Regions from separate parts of the Homo sapiens genome. Here all the other regions are linked to region 2. Evidence: promoter capture Hi-C in human tissues and cell types (Jung and others, 2019). All regions are on one chromosome and are shown on one strand. The core of a region is centred on a gene start or on the middle of the fragment in contact, and the rest is flanking DNA. Distances in the headings are between cores, read along the strand shown. Region 1 has its middle 41 kb from the start of PIP4K2A. Region 2 holds the start of ARMC3 (armadillo repeat containing 3). Region 3 has its middle 69 kb from the start of PIP4K2A.

Evidence for each region. Contacts are between HindIII fragments. The study calls those that stand out against the background at their distance.
Region 1: a fragment that was not itself captured here is called in contact with the fragment with the promoter of ARMC3 in region 2 in 2 of the 25 tissues and cell types used here (hippocampus and mesenchymal stem cells).
Region 3: a fragment that was not itself captured here is called in contact with the fragment with the promoter of ARMC3 in region 2 in 1 of the 25 tissues and cell types used here (dorsolateral prefrontal cortex).

What each region holds. Positions count from the first base shown.
Region 1 is chr10:22,754,516-22,757,440 of GRCh38, forward strand. No RefSeq gene overlaps it. Among named protein-coding and RNA genes, the nearest start is that of PIP4K2A, 41 kb to the left of the region's middle. The HindIII fragment of the contact is 5,778 bases long and covers 1-2,925 here.
Region 2 is chr10:22,926,524-22,929,490 of GRCh38, forward strand. It overlaps ARMC3 (armadillo repeat containing 3), which reads left to right and starts at 1,530. Exons shown (of 19, transcript NM_173081.5): 1 at 1,530-1,583. The HindIII fragment of the contact is 8,735 bases long and covers 1-2,967 here.
Region 3 is chr10:22,782,249-22,784,948 of GRCh38, forward strand. No RefSeq gene overlaps it. Among named protein-coding and RNA genes, the nearest start is that of PIP4K2A, 69 kb to the left of the region's middle. The HindIII fragment of the contact is 7,571 bases long and covers 1-2,700 here.

The DNA.
Region 1 (2,925 bases), core at 78-2,577, 170 kb before region 2:
CCTTTAGGAGGAGGCTGGCTGGGGCATCCAGGCCCTGGGGTCCCTCAGGCTCTGGCCCTTGGGCCTGCCCTGCCCCATCATGCATCAATTTACATGAAATAATAGGATGTAACTTTATATAATGGGCGAAAATGAAATTATCAACTGAATTAGCATTCATGCTCGGTTCTATTCCTCTAGAACTGCGAGGAGTAGGGTACTGCTATTGGTTTTACATGCCAGCAACATCCTTCTTAAATGGTTCCCTTCTAATGTGGCTTCTTGAAGATGGATGGATTTCTGATCCAAGGCCCCTAGTAGTAACCCTTAACATTGATCGGTTCATTCAAAAGTTACGTCATCACAAGCCAGTGTGGTGGTGCGTACCTGTAGACCCAGGGTCTTGGGAGGCTGAGGTGGAGGATGGCTTGATCCCAGGAGCTTGAGGGCAGCCTGGGGAACGTAGAAAGACCTCATCTCTAAAATCATTAAGAATTAAATTAAAATTTAAAAAGTTGTGTCATCGCAGTGGTCAAGCTTCAGATAATTTATGTTTGCAGAGTATATAAAGGTATCCAAAAAGTCCTTCATTTATATGCATAACTTTTTTTTTTAAAATAAAGAGTCAGGGTCTTGCTCTGTCACTCAGGCTGAAGTGCAGTGGTGCGATCCTAGCTCACTGTAACCTTGAATTCCTGGTCTCAAGAAATCCTCCTGCTTCAGCCTCCTGAGTAGTTGGAACTCCAGGCATATGCCACCACACCTGGCTAGTTTCAGTAATTTTTGTGAATATGGGATCTCACTATGTTACGCAAGCTGGTCTCAAACTCCTGGCCTCAAGTGATCTCCCCACGTTGGTCTCCCAAAGTGCTGGGATTACAGATGCCCGCCCTACCTAAACATTTTCATATTTAAATACATTTTACACTTGAAAAATATTGAGTTTAAACAATATTATTTTTAAATACACTGAAGTGGTGGTTCTTCAGCCCTCTGAAAGGTTGTATAAATGTCTAGTTTCATAGCTGTCATCAGAATCTCAAAGGGTCCCATAATTCAAACAAAGGTAAAGAACCATTAATTTGGATGATCAATGTGTCATTTAACCAACTCACCGAGGTTGCTGATTTTTGTCTGTGTCCTATTTTGGATGCATTTCCTCATTGATTTTCTTTCATTTATGGCTTAAAAGACTTCCATTGACAGGATCTTCTCACATCACATTCCATTATATGCTGTTGATGGATTTGGGACCATAACTGAGTAAAAGGCAGGCCACAGACAGAACAGATTTTCATATTAACACAAGATGACTTCTGTTGTAGAATTGTGAGCTTTAGAATTAACAGACTAGAGTTCAGCTCTGTGGCAAAGGTTACTTGCAATCTATTCTGTAATTTCATTGAGTGTCAGTTTCCTGATCTGTATATTGGGAAAGGGCATCTACTTCATGGAGTTGTCATGAGGATGACACAAGATAAATATGTAAAGGGCCTACCCACTGCAGATCAGGGCACCTCAGAGACACCCAAGAACTTCTCCTCCCTTCTCTTTTTTTTTTTTTTTCGATGGGGTCTTGCTGTTGCCCAGGCTGGAGTACAGTGGCACGATCTTGGCTCACTGCAACCTCCACCTCCTGGATTCAAGTGATTCTCCTGCCTCAGCCTCCTGAGTAGCCAGGATTACAGGTGTGCAGCACCACACCCAGCTAATTTTTATATTTTTAGTAGAGATGGGGTTTCGCCATGTTGGCCAGCTGGTCTCGAACTCTTGACCTCAGGTGATCCTCCCACCTTGGCCTCCCAAAGTCCTGGGATTACAGGCATGAGCCACCTTGCCCGGCCTCCTCCCTTCTTTGCACAATACAGACTATTGGACTTGGTGGTGAAGCTACACTAGAGGCAAAGTCTCCACCCCAATGGTATTTGTGATATTTACCTATGGGTTGATCTTCTATTTTTAGGTCCAGAATGAAAATCCTTCAGATTTCAACTCTTACACTAACAAAACTTTCATTCTGCAACATTACCTTTTTTTTTTCTTCATTCCATCTCTTCTGTTGTACTCCTTACCTTCCTCACTTTCAGCAAATCCTGCCACTTTTTCCATTAACCACAGGAAGAGTCAATTCACAGTAATCTCACTGCCTCCAAGGACCTAAGAGAAAAAAAGCTATCAAAGGGACAAATAAATATAATATGTTTAAAGCATGACAATAAATTACATAACTTCATCTCAAATCTTGCTCTGTGGGAAGGTTGATATGAATCGTTTGAAGAAACATGAAACAGATCCTAAAGACAGGCGATTTTTCATAGTGAAATGCAATTTTTTTTCAAGCTTCAAAGCAAAGGTTCCTTTTGTCATCTGCTTGATAGGTTATTTTTGACAGGATTTAACTTATTAAATTGTTCTCCTGCCCTTTCAAACGGTCTGGGCATAGGAGCTTGCTAGGGAAAATGATGAATGTTTGTTCTTAATTGAAATTTTGAAATAACCATGTGGCAAAGCATAGTGAATGCATTTGCTCTTCTGCAAAAGTTTCAAAAATGAGTGCCTTGTGTAGCACCACACTGATACTCAATAAGCAATACTAGGGTGATCTGAGGAATGAGTTAGAATAATCTGCTTTCTGGACCAGTATTTTTATAAAAGTGTTCTTTGTAGCTGTGATTAATCAAACTCTTCAAAGATTCTTTCTGTAATTTAGACATAATTCTTTCTTATTGATTAAGAACTATACCACATTATACCAATAAAAAGCGTGAATATGCCCATGAAAATTATTACATAATTATTTATACTAATAGAGAAACCTAATTTTTTGTTGGCTAACAAAAAGTTGCTGAATTTTCAGCATCACAGTTTCAAAAGATTTCCGTTAAATTGTGTGAAGTTGAGAAATGTAAGCAATTGAATTGTGATGTAGATCGAAGGACTTTGCTG
Region 2 (2,967 bases), core at 280-2,779:
AGGGATTTTATTTGTTTTTGCTTTTTAGATGAGGCATGGGAGGGGCTTCAACATAATTATATACCAACAGGAAAAAACGTGGAAGACAGGGAGAGGCTGAAAATACAGGTGTATATTATTCAAGGTCCAATCATATAACACTTGATGACGCTTATATTCTTGAAACTCCCTCCTTAGTTTCCTTGATGCTACTTGGTCTTAATCCTTTTCCTACTTTCATGACCATTACTTAAGATCTTTTCTATACAGAAGTCACACCGGATATTTGACCATGGAAAACTGAATACAAATAATTGTTATAAAGCTGTTTATCAGGCAATTTAAATGGTGAGAAGAGAACATAAGATATATAAAAGTAGCAATTATAAGAAGCATCTATCATTCTTAGGACTGGGAGACCAACAGGGGCCGGTAGGAGACGGAATTTGCAAAGTCTAAGAGGAGAGGGAGAGACTTTTTGCTAAAGGCAATCAAAAAATATTTTATGAAGATGGCATTTGAGCTGGGCTTAATTAAGTGGAAATGAGAGAATATTTCAGGTATTGCACATGACCTGGGAAATAGAAGCTACTTTATAAATATTTGTTGAAAAATGAAGTGATGAACAGATAAGCAAGAAAATCTAGAGAAAAGTGTGGAAAATTTCGGGAACAGTAAGTTTGGCTGGAGCTTGGATGGTGGAGATCGGTTGAAAATGTGGTTGCACAGATGGAGTAGAGATGGAGCAGACGGTCTTAAATTCCAGGCCAATGTGTTGAAAATTTATCTTAGGAAGCCGCTGACATTTGAGTAGGGAAGTGACAAGACTGGAACGATGATTTCTGGATGGCCGATTTGCCTGTGATACGTAGAAAGAACTGTAAGCAGAGAGCAACTGAATTTCTCAGCCAGAAGGCCAAAAAATGACGAGCTGGATTGAAGTGACAATAAGGATATGAGAAAGGGAACAAGCAGGAAACAAAATGTAAGCCGCCAAGAAGTGGCTGAAGTGATGACTGTGGTTGGGGGGCATGGGAGGAAGAAGGGAAATTGAAGCTCCTTCTGAGTCTAGGCAATTGGAAGAATGGCAGGAAGAGGAAAGAAAGAGGAAGAGAACGGGGCTTTGAAGGGCCATGAGAAGTTCTGTGGAAACGGATTGGACATCCTAGTGCAAAGAGATGTGGCAGTGCAGGTCTGCAGCTTAACGGAGCCTGGGCAGGAGGTGGCTGATGTGGGTTTCATCTGCATAGAGATTCCGGCTGACGCCTCTATTTGGAAGAATGCAATAGTATTTGCGTATTTGAACCCACAGCCAGTCCTTGGGCCAGAAACTGAGGCTGAACTGCCTCTTGATTTACAGCTTCCACCCCCAGTTTCCATTCTCCCCTAAAGCACTGGATTCAGGTAATCGCGGACGCACTTGGCTCCTCCCGCACTGGCCGCTGCCCTCGGCGGGACAATGGGCGCCCTAGCAGCCCCGAGCGTTCCCAGGGCGCAGGCGCGGCGCGGCGTGGCGTCGCCTAGCAACGAGGCACAACAAGGGACTGGGGGTTCGTCTGCTGGGTTTGCGGAGCAGCTAGCTACTCGGCGGGATCTCCCGGCAGGTAAAGGTAACCCCGTGGGGTGGGGAGGCCCAAGGCAGAGGCCTGAGGAAAACCTGGGAAAGGAGAAGGTGCCACGTGGGCGCAGACTGCTTGGGTCAGTGAGGCAACACCTTGCTGGGCGTTGTTAGTTTCTGCCTCGCGCCCGCAGGGTTAGACGGGGCTTGGGGTGGGTTTCGTAAGCATCCCGCCACCTCCCATTCAACAGGTGACAAAACTGAGGCCCGAGAGGGGATCTGAGGTGAGATCAAGTCAGATTCCGTTACTTGACTGTGAGCAACTCAGAAGTGGCCTCGATTTCTTGAGCCCTCCTCCTCTTTAAATCTTCTCAAAGCAGAACTCATTAGAAAATATTTAAAATCATAGGCTGAACGTTCACGAAGAACAAATACAAAGGACCAATCAACTCGTGAAAAAAAAAATGGCTCCAGTAGTCAAGAAGATGCATTTTTAGAGCAGAGTTGTTTGCATATCCAATGCCCTGAAGTTTTCACCCAGTTAATTTACTGCTAGAGATTTATCCTAAAGAAATAGTTGGGGATAATGGATGAAAATTTTATGTCCAAGGACGTTCTTTCAGCCCTGTCCATATTTCCAGAAAATTAGAAACAAATTTCAACAATCAGAGACTGGCTAGATAGCTAAGGGATTTTAAAATATTTGTAATGGCATGTTATGCTAATCCACTGGAGATTATTAAAGCAATGAAGGGAAACTGAGACTTCATGAATTTATTTGTTAATATAAGAATTTAGTAGGAATATGAACCCAGGAAGGGAAGGTGAAAGTAGGGGATAGAAGTTGAGGCAGGATGTTAAAATCACTTTAGAAAAACACACAAAGCCAGGTACGGTGGCTCACGCCTACAACCCCAGCACTTTGGGAGGCTGAGGCGGGTGGATCGCCTGAAGTCAGGAGTTCGAGACCAACCTGGTCAATGTGGGGAAACCTGTCTCTACTGAAAATACAAAAATTAGCCGAGCGTGGTGGCGGGTACCTGTAATCCCAGCTACTCAGGAGGCTGAGGCAGGAGAATCTCTTAAACCTGGGAGGTGGAGGTTGCAATGAGCCAAGATCAGGCCACTCTCCAGCCTGGGCAACAGAGTGAGACTCTGTCTCAAAAAAGAAAAAGAAAAAGAAAAAAAGAGAAGAGAGAGAGAGAGGGAGAGAGAGAGAGAGAAAGAGAGAGAGAAAGAGAAAGAAAAAGAAAAAGAAAGGAAAGGAAAGGAAAGGAAAGGAAAAGAAAAGAAATAGTATTGATCTCTCTGAGCTTATCTTTGGGTGATTTTTATTTTATTCGTTGTGCCCTTGTTTTCCAAATTCTCCACAGTGAAATGTATTACCCTTGTAAGGATCATCTCCATAGCTCATTGCCACCGACCTATGT
Region 3 (2,700 bases), core at 22-2,521, 140 kb before region 2:
GTATTATTTTTTGAGACCCCTCCCCATCCTTTGGTAACTGCTTGCTATTCTACTCTCTACTTCTATGATAACAACATTTTAGATTCCACCTATGAGTGAGATCATATAGTACTTGCCTTTCTGTGCCTGGCTTATTTCACTTAACATACGGTGGAAGAGACTGGGTGCAGTGGCTCATGCCTGTAATCCCAGCACTTTGGGAGGCCGAGGTGGGCTGATCACTTGAGGTCAGAAGTTCAATACCAGCCTGGCCAACATGGTGAAACCCCATCTGTACTAAAAAAATTACAAAAATTAGCCAGGCTTGGTGGCGGGTGCCTGTAATCCCAGCTACTCGGGAGGCTGAAGCAGGAGAGTTGCTTGAACCTGGGAGGTGGAGGTTGCAGTGATCCAAGATCACGACACTACTACAGCCTGGGTGACAGAGTGAGACTCTGTCTAAAAAACAACAACAACAACAACAAAAATAAGGTGGAAGAGTAGAAGTTTCACATTTTGATGATATCTCCAATGTGCTAATTTTTTAATGCATGGTTTGTACACTTTTTGTCCCATCTAAGAAATCTTTGCCCCAATCACAAAGGTTTTCCCTCCTGTTTTGTTGAAGTTTTATGGTTTCAGATTTTCCATTTAGGTCTAGAATACATTTTGTGTCAATTTTTCTAGAATACATTTTGTGTCAGACATTGAGGGCATTTTTGGGCACGGTGGCTCATGCCTGTAATCCCAGCACTTTGGGAAGCTGAGGTGGATCACTTGAGGCCAGGAGTTGGAGACCAGCCTGGGCAACATAGGGAGACCCCTTACAAAAGACTAAAACATCAGCCGGGTGTGGCAGCACATACCTGTAGCCCCAGCTACGCAGGAGGCTGAGCCCAAGGGGTTGAGACTGCAGCGAGCCGTGATCATGCCACTGAACTCTAGCCTAGGTAACAGAGCAAGACCCTGTCTAAAAAAAAAAAAAAAAAAAGAAAGAGAGAGAGAGACAGAGAGAGAAGGAAAAAGAAAGGAAGGAAGGAAGGAAGGAAGAAAGAATCACCTTTTCCCTTTTGATATCTTGGTACTTTTATTGAAAACTGAAAACCAATTGACTATTTATGCGTGGGCCTATTTTTGAACTCTCAGTTTCATGGATCTATATGTCTGTCCTTATGCTAACATCCCACTGTCTTATTTTAGCTTTATAGTAAGCCTTGAAATTGACCAGTGATTGTTCTTTTTTTTTCTCCAAAATTATTTTGCTTATTCTAGGATTCTGCATTTCTACATAAATTTCTTTTTTCTCTTTTTTTGAGATGGAATCTCGCTCCATCACCCGGGCTGGAGTGCAGTGGTGCTATCTCAGCTCACTGCAACCTTTGCCTCTTGGGTTCAAGAGTTTCTCCTGCCTGTCTCCTGAGTAGCTGGGATTACAGGAGCGCACCACCACACCTGGTTAATTTTTGTATTTTTAGGGGTTTCACCATGTTGGCCAGGCTGGTCTCGAACTCCTGACCTCAGGTGATCTGCCTGTTTTGGCCTCCCAAAGTGCTAGGATTACAGGCGTGACCCACTGCGCCCCGCCTGCAATTCTATATAAATTTCTACATAAAAAATTCGCTTGATTTTGATTGAGACAGCACTGACTCACAATTTAGGGAGAATTGACATCTTAACAATACCAAGTCAACTGAACTATGAACATGTGTGTCTCACTATTTATTGAGATATTCTTTAATTTATCTCAGCAAAGTCTTGGACTTTTCTCTGTGCAGTTGCCCAACCTTATCTGCAGAGGACACGTTCCAATAACCCCAGCTATGCCTCAAACTGTGGAGAGTACTGACCCCTATATATCCTATGTTTTTTTAATATCTACTTACCTATGATAAAGTTTAATTTATAAATTTGGCATAGTAAGAGAGTAACAATAACTAATAATAAAGCAGAAGAATTATAACAAACTGTAATAAAAGTTGTGTGAATGTGGTCTCTCAAAATATCTTCATATTTTTGGATTGTAGTTGACTGTAGATAACTGAAAACTGCTGAAAAGGAAAAGACTGATTTGGTTACTATACATACCATCATTATTTTGTTATGTTTATTCCTAAATAAATCATGTTTTGTGATGCCATTTTAAACATATTGTTAAAATGTAAATTTCCGATTGTTTGTTGCTACCATATAGAAATATAATTGATTTGTGTATGTTGACCTTGTATCCTGTGACGTTGTTTAAATTTGCTTCTTAGCTGTGGTTACTTTTTGGTAGATTCCTTTGGATTTTCTGTATCAACAGGCACATTGCTGGTGCATAGTGACAGTTTTACATATACATTTCCAAAGATAGGAATTTTATTTTGGTTTCTTGCCTTATAACATTAACTGGAAACACGCACTGAATAGAAGTGACAAGAGGGAACATCTTGCCTTCTTCCCGATCTTAGGAGAAAATAATTCAGTTTTAAATTATGGCATTAGCTGTAGGTTTTTGGTGGATTTCCTCTATCACATTGAGAAAGTTTTCTCCTATTTCTAGTTTGCTAAGGGCTTTTTGTTTGTTTGTTTTAAATCATGAATGGGTATTGAAATTTGTCAAATGCTTTTCTGCACCTTTTAAGATGAAACTATATGAATCATACAGTTTCTCCTTTTTAGTCTGCTAGTATGATGAATTATATTTATTGATTTTTGCATGTTGACTCAATATTACATTTC